3 separate regions of the Homo sapiens genome follow, and all the other regions are linked to region 1. The links are contacts of gene promoters, found by promoter capture Hi-C in human tissues and cell types (Jung and others, 2019). All regions are on one chromosome and are shown on one strand. The core of a region is centred on a gene start or on the middle of the fragment in contact, and the rest is flanking DNA. Distances in the headings are between cores, read along the strand shown.

The links. Contacts are between HindIII fragments. The study calls those that stand out against the background at their distance.
Region 2: a contact is called between a fragment that was not itself captured here and the fragment with the promoter of HTRA3 in region 1, in 1 of the 25 tissues and cell types used here (spleen).
Region 3: a contact is called between a fragment that was not itself captured here and the fragment with the promoter of HTRA3 in region 1, in 1 of the 25 tissues and cell types used here (thymus).

Annotation. Positions count from the first base shown.
Region 1 is chr4:8,267,226-8,271,715 of GRCh38, forward strand. HTRA3 (HtrA serine peptidase 3) reads left to right here and starts at 2,529. Exons shown (of 9, transcript NM_053044.5): 1 at 2,529-3,128. The coding sequence starts at 2,744. It overlaps LOC105374373 (a long non-coding RNA gene), which reads right to left and starts at 2,956. Exons shown (of 2, transcript XR_001741572.2): 1 at 2,882-2,956; 2 at 1,381-2,171. RefSeq lists a silencer at 65-214. The HindIII fragment of the contact is 12,405 bases long and covers 257-4,490 here.
Region 2 is chr4:8,302,024-8,306,535 of GRCh38, forward strand. HTRA3 (HtrA serine peptidase 3) reads left to right here. Exons shown (of 9, transcript NM_053044.5): 7 at 440-488; 8 at 2,161-2,256; 9 at 3,948-4,512. The coding sequence ends at 4,113. Among named protein-coding and RNA genes, the nearest start is that of LINC02517, 16 kb to the right of the region's middle. The HindIII fragment of the contact is 3,732 bases long and covers 914-4,512 here.
Region 3 is chr4:8,221,631-8,225,941 of GRCh38, forward strand. SH3TC1 (SH3 domain and tetratricopeptide repeats 1) reads left to right here. Exons shown (of 18, transcript NM_018986.5): 10 at 1,210-1,340; 11 at 3,545-3,586. Among named protein-coding and RNA genes, the nearest start is that of SH3TC1, 24 kb to the left of the region's middle. The HindIII fragment of the contact is 3,460 bases long and covers 1-3,309 here.

The DNA of each region.
Region 1 (4,490 bases), core at 1,279-3,778:
GGAACCTCCCGGGTGGATCCCAGGCCCTTGGGGAATCCTCTCCTACTCCTGGCCCCTAAGTCAGGTGTTCAGGGTTGGGGATGGGAGGCCCCAAAGTTTACTGAGTGAGAGGCAGTGCAGGGCGGGAGCAGCAGGGGGCGCGGCTCTCCTGAGGACAGCGCTGGGCTCCTGCCAAGCTCAAGGCAGCCACTGTGAGCCCTGCCTGCCCATTTCAGGGAAGAGCAAAGGCCACCCCAGGGAACTGCATCCCAGCTGCAGAGCAGAGAAGGGTCTTTTCACTCCGGGCCTCAGTTTCCCTCTCTGTACAAGAGGACTAAATCCCCACTGCAAGGTGGTCAAGATGGTGACCGTTGGGGGCAGCATGGTCTCCAGGGAGGAGCAAGGACTTGACCTAAGGACAGGCCAAGATCTGAGGCCCACCTGCCAGAATCTCTGGCCTTGCACTCCCCCAGCCCTGTTCTAAGGATCCTAACGCCCACCTCTCAGGCGCTTCGTGAAGACTGAGTCAAGTGTATGCAGAGCGCTCCAGCAGCCTCAGGGCCTACACATCGGTAGCTGTGGTTCCTTGGAAGCTGTGGCAGGCTGTGCAAACTCTGACCTGCTGCAGCGCCGGTCCTGGACTCTCTCAGAGACTCAGTTTCCCCATTGTAGAGGAAAAGCTTAGGGGAAATGAGCTCTTGGGCCCTTCCCAGGGACTTAGTTTTCTGCGCACTGAAGGATCCAGGGATGGAAAAGTGTTGATCTTCAGGGCCAGGTGTCTGCAGGAAAACACAGGCCCCCCAAAAAGCCAGCTCTGGGCCACAGTAGCCCACCAAGGCTTACTCGAGGGGCAGGCATCCTGGGCACGTGAAAAATTCTCCTTGCGCCTTAGGCAAGCCCACCCTGCAGAGACATGAACCGGGAGCCCTGGCCAAGGTTGAGGGAGGTTCAGCCCAGCCCTGAGGTCCCCAACTCCTAGCATTCTGGGTCATTCCAAAAAATGGCCTGAAATTCTCCACATCTTCAAAGTAAAGTGCACTTGAGGTTTGTAGAGGCAGAAACGCAGGTGCTATTGCCCCTTGTCAAAGGGCCTTTTAGGGGGAGAAGCTCCAGGTCCCTTCTCTCCCCGTCCCCTGGGACCCTTCAACCTTTCACTCTCTCTGGGTCCTATGGGGGCTCACACTTGGCGCCCCGCCTCCTCCCACCTCATCCTCCCCAGACATCTTGTCTGATGGGGCCGCTCCCTACTCAACGCCTCCCCAGGCCTTTGAGGACCCAGGGCCCTCAGGGATCAGGCCCCTCCACCTTCCCATTCCCCGAGGCCCTTTAACCTCCAGCTCCCCCTCCCTCCTCTGGACCAGAGGTACCCCTCCCCATTCTTAACTTGGGTATCTGTGAACCTGGATGGAAAAACGTCTTTATTTACCCCAACAACTCCAACTGAAGTCCAGCATTCATTCCTTTGGGGGTGCAGTTGACCCCAGCCAGCAGGGCCTGTGGCTCCACGGCCAGCAGAAGCAGTGTTTACATCCCCATGTTACCGCCCTCACCGAAGGTGTCTCCAGTGGCAGCCCTCTGCACAGGGCTGCTGCGAAGTGTCCACTGGTATCAGACGACAGACCGACCAGAACCTGCCATTAACATGCTGATAAAGAAGCCCATAGGCCACGCTGTCATGAATTGTTTCATGTATTTTGATAACTGTGTTTTGATAGAATTGTTCCCCTTTGTGACCCCATGGTCTTTGTTTTATGCGTTTAAATCTACTTGACGACATCGTTCTGAAAAGGACACCCAGGCTTCGCCAGGCAGCCCAGGGTACTAGGAACACACACAGTGTGAAGACCGCAGCTCCAGGCTGTGCGCGCGGCGTTATCTCCTGCTGCCCCGACCTGCTTTTGCTTGGGAGCCTCTGCCCAGGTCACGGCCAGCTCCCGCTTCCCATCCTTCCTCTTCAGGCTTGACATTCACCTCCAAGGGGGGTTCTGCCTTCTCTCACAACTCCGCAGCCTTCACCCCATCAGCTGACGCACTGTCACCAGATTCTGACTCTCGTGATGGGACCTGGGTCTGAAGGGGCCCTGCAGAAAATGCAGGAGCAATGATGAGAATGGAAACAGCTTCCGGTTCCGTGGACAGCGAGGACTCGGGAACACTGCTCAGCCATGGCCTCTGTGGTTCTTCCAACGACCCTATGAGGTTGAGAAATGCTGTCAATTCCCCTTTCCTGGAGGAGGAAACTGAGGCACAGAGGAGACTGGACACGGACAGACCCCTCCAGAGCGGGGAGAACGCATCCCCCAACGTTTCTGGGATAGGCTGGGCCCGGGGGTCCCCACCAGAAAGGACCCCTGCGTGTCTGTAGCCTCGGGTTTTCTCGACCAGGCCGACCAGAGTCCCAAGGCCTGCCGGGTGGGTCCAGGCCCGGAAGGCCAGGCGGGGCCCTGTCGGGGCCTGGGCGGGGCTGGCGGAGGGGCCGGGCCGCCCCTTCCAGCGAGGGCGGGCTGGGCGGTCGCCTTTAAAGGCGCGGGACCCGCCGCCCGCGGACCGTCAGGCTGGAGGGAGCTGGTCCCTGCGCTCCCTGCGCCCTGGGGATGCCCCTGCCGCCCTGACGCCCGCCAGCCTGAGCCACCGGCGCATGTGACCGCGCGTCCGCCCCAGTCCCATCCGTAGGCGCCCGGCGCCCGGCCCCGCAGCGGCCTCGTTGTCCCCGCCGGCCCCCGCCCGGTCTCCCGCGCTGCCACCCGCCGCCGGCCCTGCCGCCATGCAGGCGCGAGCGCTGCTCCTGGCCGCGTTGGCCGCGCTGGCGCTGGCCCGGGAGCCCCCTGCGGCGCCGTGTCCCGCGCGCTGCGACGTGTCGCGGTGTCCCAGCCCCCGCTGCCCCGGCGGCTACGTGCCCGACCTCTGCAACTGCTGCCTGGTGTGCGCCGCCAGCGAGGGCGAGCCCTGTGGCGGCCCTCTGGACTCGCCTTGCGGCGAGAGCCTGGAGTGCGTGCGCGGCCTATGCCGCTGCCGCTGGTCGCACGCCGTGTGTGGCACCGACGGGCACACCTATGCCAACGTGTGCGCGCTGCAGGCGGCCAGCCGCCGCGCGCTGCAGCTCTCCGGGACGCCCGTGCGCCAGCTGCAGAAGGGCGCCTGCCCGTTGGGTAAGCGCTCGGGGGCCAGGGAGGAAGTGAAGCTTCTTTCTCTTGGGGAAACTAAGGCCGGGAGTTAGGGCCGAGCTCGAGGTCGCCCTTCCCTGGGCACCACCGGGTGGCCCTTCAGAAATCATCCCACCAGCCCTCTGGTCTTTCAGATGAAGAAACTGAGGCCCGGAAAGGTAAACCGCTGTCCCCAAGGTCACAGAATTAGAGTCAAAAGGGAAACCCGGTGGTCTCCTGGCCACCCGAGGGGCCTCATCTAGGACTGTTTCCAGCTCTGGTCTCTTCAGAACTGATGTCTCGTGCCCATTCCCTTGATCCTTGGACCCCTGCTCTGTCCGGGTATTGAGTGAAGGGCACTCTTTCCTGCCCTAACTCTCCAGCCGGGGTGCCCTCTTGGGTGATGCCTTCTTTCCTGGAGACTGTGGTTAAGTGCATGTCTCCACAGGACTGTGTGGGAAGGGTCAGGGTGCAGGTCCCTGAACTGCTTAGGGCGCCCCAGGGAGAGGCTGCTTGGGGGAGAGAATGTCGGGGTCAGACCCTAGAACAGCCTCCCTTGAGGCAGTCGGCTCTAGGTTGCATCTCACCGTGCAGGTTGACTCTGTACGTGGAGGAAAATGCTGGAAAACCTGCTGTACCTTTTTCCCTGTTTGGGGTGCCTCTTAGGAAAGCAGACTCTGCTGTGGCCGGACAGGGGTTCACTGAAGACAGGCGACGGGCCCCAGGTTCATGGATAGGAGTCAGGGTCCTGCGTGCCATCAGCTTGCAGGTGGCAGGGAGAGATGCAGTAGCTGCCAGAACAGGCTCCGTGGAGCCTCAGGAGCACCATGGGGAGCACCAACTGCCGGGGCTCCTGGGAAGCCTGCAGAGGGCTTCCTCATTTTTTCTGCGGTCCGCTGAACACAATTCCAAGTGTTTTCATGGTGTAAAAAGGTTGGGGAACTGAGCGCTCTATTCCTGTAGTGGAGACTCACAGGCTCAATCTATCAGAGGTTCTGAGAAAACCTGCAGTGTCCTCAATTGATGAAACCCAGGGCTTCCCCAGAGAATTTCAACAGAGAGCTCTTCTTTTCTGGCAGAACACGTGACCTCCTCCCAGCACGCTGGGGTTCCTGGGAGCCCCGTGTGGGAAGCATCATTCGAGATTAGCTAGGATTATGTGGAAGAGCCACCGCAGGGTTTGGCGGGGAGTCCCAGTCCACCTTGTGCTGGTACAACGCCTGAGACTGGGCAGTTTATACAGGACAGAGATGTATTTCTCGCAGCTCTGGAGGCTGGAAAGTTCAAGACCAAGGTGCCAGCAGGCTTGGTTGTCTGGTGAGGGCTGCACTCTGCGGAAGGGAGGAAGCTGCGTCTTCACACGGCAGA
Region 2 (4,512 bases), core at 1,530-4,029, 35 kb after region 1:
GTACTCACTGGACATTAGCAGCGAGTATCGTTTTGAGGAAGACCAGTGGGAGGTGATGAGTTCAGTTCCAAGCAGGGAACATTTGGGGAAGCAGCAGTATGGAAGCCAGAAAGGACAGCCCCACTGGCCACTGGGGTTGGGTTGGAGCTCAGCTGGGAGAGCAGATGTCGGAGCTCACATGGTTGGATGCAGGATGCGGTGGACATGAAGCCACCTGTGGGGCGAGCCACACTAGAGCTAGAATACCCCTCAGCTCCATGATGATGGTCAGGAGAGGGCAGCTTTGCTGGACCGCAGGGGGACTGGGCCAGCTCAAGCAGAATGACACCTGCTGCTTCCTGGTCCTGCAGGGGAACTTCTGTCCTCTGCCTGTCCCCTGAGGGAGCGTGGTGGCTTTTCACAGCAGCCCTAACGGAGTCTCGCCGTGTTTCATTTCCAGACTGGAAGAAGCGCTTCATCGGCATACGGATGCGGACGATCACACCAAGGTGAGTGTCTGAAGAGTGCCATCCCCTGCTACCCCTTCCTCTCATCCCTCACCCTGACCCTCCCTCCAGACCCTGGCTGGCTGTGTTCGGCTCCTTGCAGGTGCCCAGACGGGCCGATGCACTCAGGCCTCTGACCGTTGCTCAGGCCAGTCCTTTTGCGTGGACCTTTCCCTCTTTGCCTTATAGATTCCTTCTGCTCTTTCAGGACGCTATCTCTTTCCATGGCTGCTATAACAAATTACTATAAGCCTGGTGGCTTAAAACAGCAGAAATGTGTTCCCTCTCAGTTCTGGAGGTCGGGGATCTGAAGTCAAGGGGTCGGCAGGGCTGCACTCTGCCTCTGAGGCTCCAGGGAAAGCTACTTCCTTGCCCCTTCCAGCTTCTGCTGGCTCCAGGCATCCTTGGCTTGTGGCTGCCTCCCTGCAGTCTCTACCTCTGTCTTCACTTGACCTTCTTTCTCTCTGAGTATCTGTGTGCACATCTCTCTCTCGTTTCTCTTATGAAAACATCCATCATTGGAGTTAGGGCCCACTCTAAACCAAGAAGGTCTCTTCTCAAGATCTTCAACTAATGACATCTATAAAGGTCCTATTTCCAAACAAGGTCACATTCTGAGGCTCTGGGTGTACACGAATTTGGGGGAACACCATTCTGCATTCCCAGGACACTCAAGTGGCAGAAGGTGCCTCCTCATAGCACACAGAGCCCTGGCCTCCCTCTCCAGCCTTGAACTCATCCTGCTGTGTCGGAATCACCTGTGGTGGGACCGCCCCACCCCATCCTGCCTCCTCGGCTGTCAGCTCCTTGGGAGCAAGGACTGTGACCTACTTATTCCTCCACTCTGCCCCAAAAGCAGGTCCACTGCAGAGCAGGTGCCTGGAAATGCTGAATGAGTGCAAGAAAGAAGGGGCTGGGGGAGAGGAAGCAGGGGCAGGATAGAAGGGAGGCTGGAAGTACAAACTTGAGCTTCGAGGTTTGAAGAAGGGAGAGGTCACTGCATCGGGAGCCTAGGAAGAACTCGAGAATGCTCAAGTGACCATTTCCTCAAAGCACACAGTCCCTAAAGCTGTCATTCCTCCTGTTTCACCAACTCTGCTAATCTAGGGGTGACATTTGAAAAAAATTATCAATGTCCAGTATGCCAATTTATCTTTTGTTTTCTGTCTCTTTTATCTGTCTGTCCATCCCACCTCTGTCCAGTCTTCTGTCTGTCTGTTCCATGACTCAGCATTGTCTGTTCATTCCATGACTCAGCATTGTCTGTCCGTTCCGTGACTCAGCATTGTCTGTACGTTCCGTGACTCAGCATTGTCTGTCCATTCCATGACTCAGCATTGCCTGTCTGTCCATTTCTCCTTCTATCCACCCATCCAGCATCATTCCTTCATTCATCCATCCATCCATCCATCCATCCATCCTCCCGCCCCTCCTCCCACCTGTCTACCCACTCTCTCTCCTCTCTTCACGCTTCTAACCAGCTATTGCTACCACGTTTCTCTTAAGAAGCACATCTGGTAGGGGACACAGAGTGGCCAGTGGTGGGACAGGGCAGTATGGGGGCCCAGAGGTGGCTCCTCTTCTGGTCTGGTGCTGGAGGGAGGGAGGGGCAGCTTCATACCAAAGAGCTGGGCAAAGGCTCAGGGGAGGGGCCTTGACGGCAGACTCTTTCCAGCCTGGTGGATGAGCTGAAGGCCAGCAACCCGGACTTCCCAGAGGTCAGCAGTGGAATTTATGTGCAAGAGGTTGCGCCGAATTCACCTTCTCAGAGGTAGGCTCTGCCAGAGGAGATCGCTCGAGGCATGGGGCAGGCGTGAGGTCTGGGCTGGGGCTGCCCCACTGACCTCATGTGACCTTGAGCTTCCCAGCAAAGTGACCGGGAAGGGGCAGGTGGATTCTAGCGTGTCTGCTAAGCCAGAGGAGGCTGGAGAGCTGAATGGTCCCTAGAGCCCTGACTGTGTACGTCCTAAGTCCCACAATGTCATTTCCTTCGAGAAGCAGAGGCTGAAGAGTCCCTGTTGGGCTAAGAACCCACTCCAAGCCAGACTCTTTCACTAGCTGGGGACCAGCCTGGGTCCTGGGTCTTTCTGGGACTCAGCTTCCTCATTGTAAAGTGGAGATAATTCAGCCTATTGTTTTTTTTTTTTTTTTTTTTTTTTTTTTTTTGAGACAGTCTCCCTCTTGTTGCCCAGCCTGGAGTGCAGTGTCGCGATCTCAGCTCACTGCAACCTCTGCCTCCTGGGCTCAAGCGACTCTCCTGCCTCAGCCTTCTGAGTAGCTCAGATTACAAGTGCCCACCACCATGCCCTGCTAATTGTTTTTGTATTTTTAGTAGAGAAGGGGTTTCACCACGTTGGCCAGGCTAGTCTTGAACTGCTGACCTCAGGCGATCCACCTGCCTTGGCCTCCCAAAGTGCTGGGATTTCTACCCCCAGGAGACTTTGTAGATGAAATGGATAAAGGATTGCTTTCTTTGAAGTCTTCCAGTACTAGAGAAATGTTAAGCATTGCAACACCATAGGCTGAGGCAGGCGTGCAGCGACACTACCACATGCTGGCATGGCTGACCCACTCCCAAGAAGGGCTCTGAACCAGTTGCCTCCCCTCCTTAGCCTCGGTCTTCATCTGCAGTGGGAAAAATCCACATATAAGTGGACCCACACAGTTCAGACCCATGTTGTTCAAGGGCCGACTGTACTGTGCATCCTCAGAGGCTGGGCTTGAAGGTGGGAGGCCCCGCGTGAACTTCTGTGATGAGCACAGATGGCACACTTGTCCTGCCCGCAGCAGGCCTGCAGTAAAAATTGTTGAAATTGGGTGAAATTTTCCACACACATCTCAGTTAATCCTCACTGCAGCCAGGGAGGTGCAGGCTCCTGCCCTCACCCATTTTACAGGTGGAGGGACTGAGGTTTAGAGAAGTTACTCTTCCAGGTCACACAGCTGGCATGTGAGGGTCCTGATGCTGGTGCCCACGCAGCTGAGCACAGTACCATCACCTTCCTTCCCAGCAGTGGGGAGGTCTCAGTGAGCCTCATGCAGAGAGAAGGCTGGCCCCGTGAGCTCTGCCTCCCACATAGACGTCTTCGTAACTGCAGTAACAGCAGAACCTACTCCTGGGCCTTTATAATTTGCAAAGTGCGTTTCCACATAGGATGGTAGACATGAAAACTGAGGCACAAGGGGACAGAGTGCCTGGCCCAGCTAGGAGGGCTGCAGCGGGAGCTTGAACCCACCCTTCTGACGCATGGGAGAAGCAGTTTGAAAGGTTGTTTCCCTGTCGTGTGACATTGGTTTTCTTCTGGTGTGAGAGCTTTGGGGCTGGGGCACTGTTCTTTCCCATCGAGATGACTTTTGTTGAAATGTTGTCATTGACCCTGACTGTGCCTCGCTCTGGGCCGGGCCTGGGAAGGCTGTGCCTGGGGAGGCGGTGGGTGGTGACCCCGTCTCTCCTGTTGGCAGAGGCGGCATCCAAGATGGTGACATCATCGTCAAGGTCAACGGGCGTCCTCTAGTGGACTCGAGTGAGCTGCAGGAGGCCGTGCTGACCGAGTCTCCTCTCCTACTGGAGGTGCGGCGGGGGAACGACGACCTCCTCTTCAGCATCGCACCTGAGGTGGTCATGTGAGGGGCGCATTCCTCCAGCGCCAAGCGTCAGAGCCTGCAGACAACGGAGGGCAGCGCCCCCCCGAGATCAGGACGAAGGACCACCGTCGGTCCTCAGCAGGGCGGCAGCCTCCTCCTGGCTGTCCGGGGCAGAGCGGAGGCTGGGCTTGGCCAGGGGCCCGAATTTCCGCCTGGGGAGTGTTGGATCCACATCCCGGTGCCGGGGAGGGAAGCCCAACATCCCCTTGTACAGATGATCCTGAAAGTCACTTCCAAGTTCTCCGGATATTCACAAAACTGCCTTCCATGGAGGTCCCCTCCTCTCCTAGCTTCCCGCCTCTGCCCCTGTGAACACCCATCTGCAGTATCCCCTGCTCCTGCCCCTCCTACTGCAGGTCTGGGCTGCCAAGCTTCTTCCCCC
Region 3 (4,311 bases), core at 330-2,829, 47 kb before region 1:
AACATGATGTTCCTTTACCCCTAAATAATGCAGTATGTGGTTCCTAAAACCAGGACATCTGCTTACATAACTACAGTACAACTGTCGAAATCAGGAAATGAACGCAGATACAATGCCATTATCTACAGATCTTACTCAGATTTTGCCAGGAGCCACAATGATGGCCTTTGTAGACAATGACAATTTCAGACCACGTGTTCTATTCAGACGTCATGTCTTGCCTCCTTAATGTGAAACAGCTTTTCAGTCTTTTTCTGATGTTTTTAAAGAATACAGGCCTGTTATTTTGTAGAATGTGCTGTAAGCTACTCTAAGTTTTTTTAAAATCTGAATAAGATGCATTTCAAAGCTTCATATTATACTGGTAATTTAGTCCTATAAGCAAAAATTGCCTCCTTTCTCCTCCCCTCTCTCCCTCTCTCTCTGTTTCTTCCTGTAGTTCTTCTCCCTGACTTTATGAGAGTGCCCTGAGTGTATGTTGGGCACTCTGGGGAGCACTGAGGTTGTACAGAATCAGTGGGAGTTTACAATGTGGAGAGATTGGATTGGTTCTGTCTGCAGCTGTCACAGGGGACTTCATAAGGGAGGGGACATTTGGAATGGGGCTTTGAAGGCTGCCTAGGAGCTCACTGTCCTAGGACACCATTACTTGTTTGCATCTGTTTCAGCCTTTCCTGCTTCTGGGTATCTGCCCCTGGCCAGACAAGGCACCCCTTGAGGTCAGGATCTGGTTTTTTTTTTTTTTTTTTTTTTTTTTTTTTCAGACAAAGTCTTGCTCTGTCACCCAGGCTGGAGTGCAGTGGTGTGAACTCGGCTCACTGCAACCTCTTCCTCCTCTGTTCAAGTGATTCTCCTGCCTCAGCCTCCCGAACAGCTGGAATTACAGGCTCATGCCACCACGCCTGGCTAATTTTTGTATTTTTGTAGAGATGGGGGTTTCACCATGTTGGCCAGGCTGGTCTTGAACCCTTGACCTCAAGTGATCCGCCCACCTCAGCCTCCCAAAGTGCTGAGATTACAGGTGTGAGCCACCATGCCTGGACTTTTTGTTGTTGTTGTTGTTGTTTTTAAATCTCTGTCTCTACCCCTGGGCAGAGAGTAGTGCTCCGAGACTATCTGTCTGTCAAATCAAGGAATGGAAATGTGCTTAGTGTGAAATGCTGACTTTGCAAATATGTTGTTTTGAATAAAGCACTTTATTTTTTCCAGGTTGGAAAGTGCGATTTTTCTCAATGAGGAAGAAAAGTCATTCTTCAGCGAGGGCTGCTTTTCTGAGGAGGATGCCAGGCAGTTGCTGAGGCGGATGTCGGGCACCGATGTCTGCAGCGTGTACAGCCTGGGTGCGTGTGGGCGATGCCTGTGGTGGGGCCACTGCCCTCCCCTTTCCCTTCTGCAGCCCCTGCTGCCCTCGTCCATCCACAGATAGTGCCAGCCCCTGGATGCTGAAAGGTGAACAGACAGAGGCTGCCGCTGCCTCCAGGGCACATAGGGGCTGCAGACAAGCCAGACAGGAGAGAGGATGGGTGAGGAGCTGAGGGCGTGGGAATGTGGCCCCTGAGACTCCTGTGGGCACCAGGGAAGCCCTTCCTGCCCTGACCCCAGGCACCTGCCTGAGACGCTGGGCGAGGGAGAGGGTATGGGTCTGGTTCTAATTTGCCAGCCCTGAGGGCTCCTGTTTGGGGCCCAGCCCTCTGCCCACTGCACTTTGCCTGGGTGAGAGTGACTTTTCTCCTTGTCACAAGAGAAAGAACCCAGACTGTGGTGTGGCCTGGTCACCTGGCTGCCAGGGAGTGTCATGGTGGGACCCCAGGGCTGCCGTCTCCTAAGGACAGAGATAGTCCCTCTGACCTCAGTGCCCCTCTGTGTGCAAAAGCTTTCTCTGGGGGCTGCAGTGCAACGCATAGATGAAGTTGGCATGTCATCCACAACATAAAGAAACATGGCAGAGGCCGTGCTATCTGCTGGGTGTAGATAAACACAAATGTGTGGCTACACACCCACTTTTTTTTTTTTTTTTTTTGAGACAGAGTCCTGTGCTGTTGCCCAGGCTGGAGTGCAGTGGCATGATCTCGGCTCACTGCAACCTCTGCCTCCCGGGTTCAAGCGATTCTCGTGTCTCAGCCTCCCAAGTAGCTGGAACTACAGGCACGCGCCACCACACCCTGGATTAGTTTTGCATTTTTTTATACAGACAGAGTTTCGCCATGTTGGCCAGGCTGTTCTCGAACTCCTGAGCTCAGGTGATCCGCCAGCCTCAGCCTCCCAAAGTGCTGGGATTACAGCTGTGAGCCACTGTGCCCAGCATCTACACACCTACTTGTATACCTATGTGCACATGTACAAACACAGACATAAACACACAAATACGCATGTAAATACACACTGTGTGCATGCACACATGCACTCACAAGTATACACACACACACACCCACCCATGCAGACATGTGTGCACATGTGCCTGCAGAGGTGTATACACACATACACACATGTGCATGCACCTTCCTCACAAGGTGTACACGCACACGTACATACATATCCATGCACCCCCTCACACACATATGCACACACATATATAAACAGATACATTTCCACACACACTTTTTTCCTGCTTGCTCGATGACATGCATTACAAGACCTTTTCTCCCACCAGTATTAGAGTTAACATTTGTAGATCCCACAAATCAACTTCCCTTCCTGAATGGACAAACTTAGACTTGACCTCAGCATATCAAGGCTCAGACCCCCTGGATGGTATCTCCTGTCCTTTTTAGGAAGCAGGTTTGGGACCCTCCACACCGTGGGGTGTTGTGGGCAGGGGCATTGCAGGGTGCAGGTGTCATAAGTGGGGGTGTTGCAGGATGCAGGTGTTGTGAGATGGAGGCATTGCAGGGTGCTCCCCAGAACTGCACACCTGTTATCGCAGTTCACAGCGCTTGACGCTGTCCACATCTCCACATCTTTTTACAGCTATTTCTCACTTGACCTCCACGGAAACCCAGTAAGCAGTTAGTGTCAGCCACTTTACGGGGGTGAAACTGAGACCCGGTAGCTGCCTGCCCTGGGATGAAGAGGGTGGGGGTGCACTGGAGCAGTGTTGATCCCTGGGCTGTCGGACTCAGAGCTGCTGCCTGTTCAATGCGCCCTGCTCCCTGATGGAGCTGATGGAAGCCGAGAGCGTGCTCCCCACTGATGATGGGAGGATGTCCCCAGAAGACGGGAGAGTGGAATCCCCACAGGGGTTGGGTGGGGTGGAGGCCTGGAGATGCTAGAACATGAGAATTCTCTGGCCCATTGGCTGGTGCCTCTCCCTCAGGTGTCAGCAGTGCTCCTATGCTGGTTGCACCTGACCCTGCAACACCTCAGCCTGCAACACCTGCACCCTGCAACACTCCAGCCCGCAACACCAGCACCCTGCAACATCTCAGCCCTCAATACCTGCACCCAGCAATGCTCTCACCCTGCAACATCGACACTAGCTCAACCTGGCAGGGGACCAGAGGTACTGGCTGGGGGTGTTGATTGCTTCTCTTTTCTCCCTTGCCAGACTCAGTAGAGGAAGCTGAGACCGAGCAGCCGCAGGAAAAAGGTGGGTTTTGCCAGTGGCTCAGGCTTCCTCTGGTTATGAGCTGGGCCTTGGGGTAACGCTGGGGGAGGTGACAAAGCTGAGCACGGTGGGCATTGGGTGCGGCTGTCACCCCTCTGTGGTGTGGGCTGGGGGCTTGGGGGAGGTTGCCTGAGGTGGGCCTGAACCTCCCGTCCACTGTGGCACTGGAGGCCGTGGGGTCCCGCACTTCTTCCAATGAACATGCTGGCCCCCGCCTGGTCCCCGCCCAAGATGGAGCATCCTTTCCACTGCTTGGGTCCACTTGTAGCTGTGGGTTCCTTTCTCATGACCTGGAGAAGCTGCAGCTTGCCCTCTGCTCTGCCTCAGAGATGGGAGGCCACACTGCCCTCAGTGGGTGGCAGAATTCAGAGCCTTAGGTTGCAGGGGCCTCAACTGAGGTCCCTCAAGGGTCTGCTCCTTCCTGAGGGGCTGATTGAGGGAGACCCTTCCATCTCCCCTCTACAGCTCTGTCTCTTCCCCTCACACAGGGTCCGCATGGGGAGAGCCTGGGGATGTGGACACCCCAAGAGCCCTCGGAAGTTCCCTGGGAATGGGATCCATTCCAGTACATTTGGGATGCAGGCAGGAGGTCCCAGAGGAGGCCTGGAAGCCAGTGGGGAAGGGAAGGCTGTTGTAGGTTTTCCTGGGGGAGGGGGTGGATCCACCCTCTGCCGAAGTCCCTGGAGCAAATGCGAGTGACTCCAGCT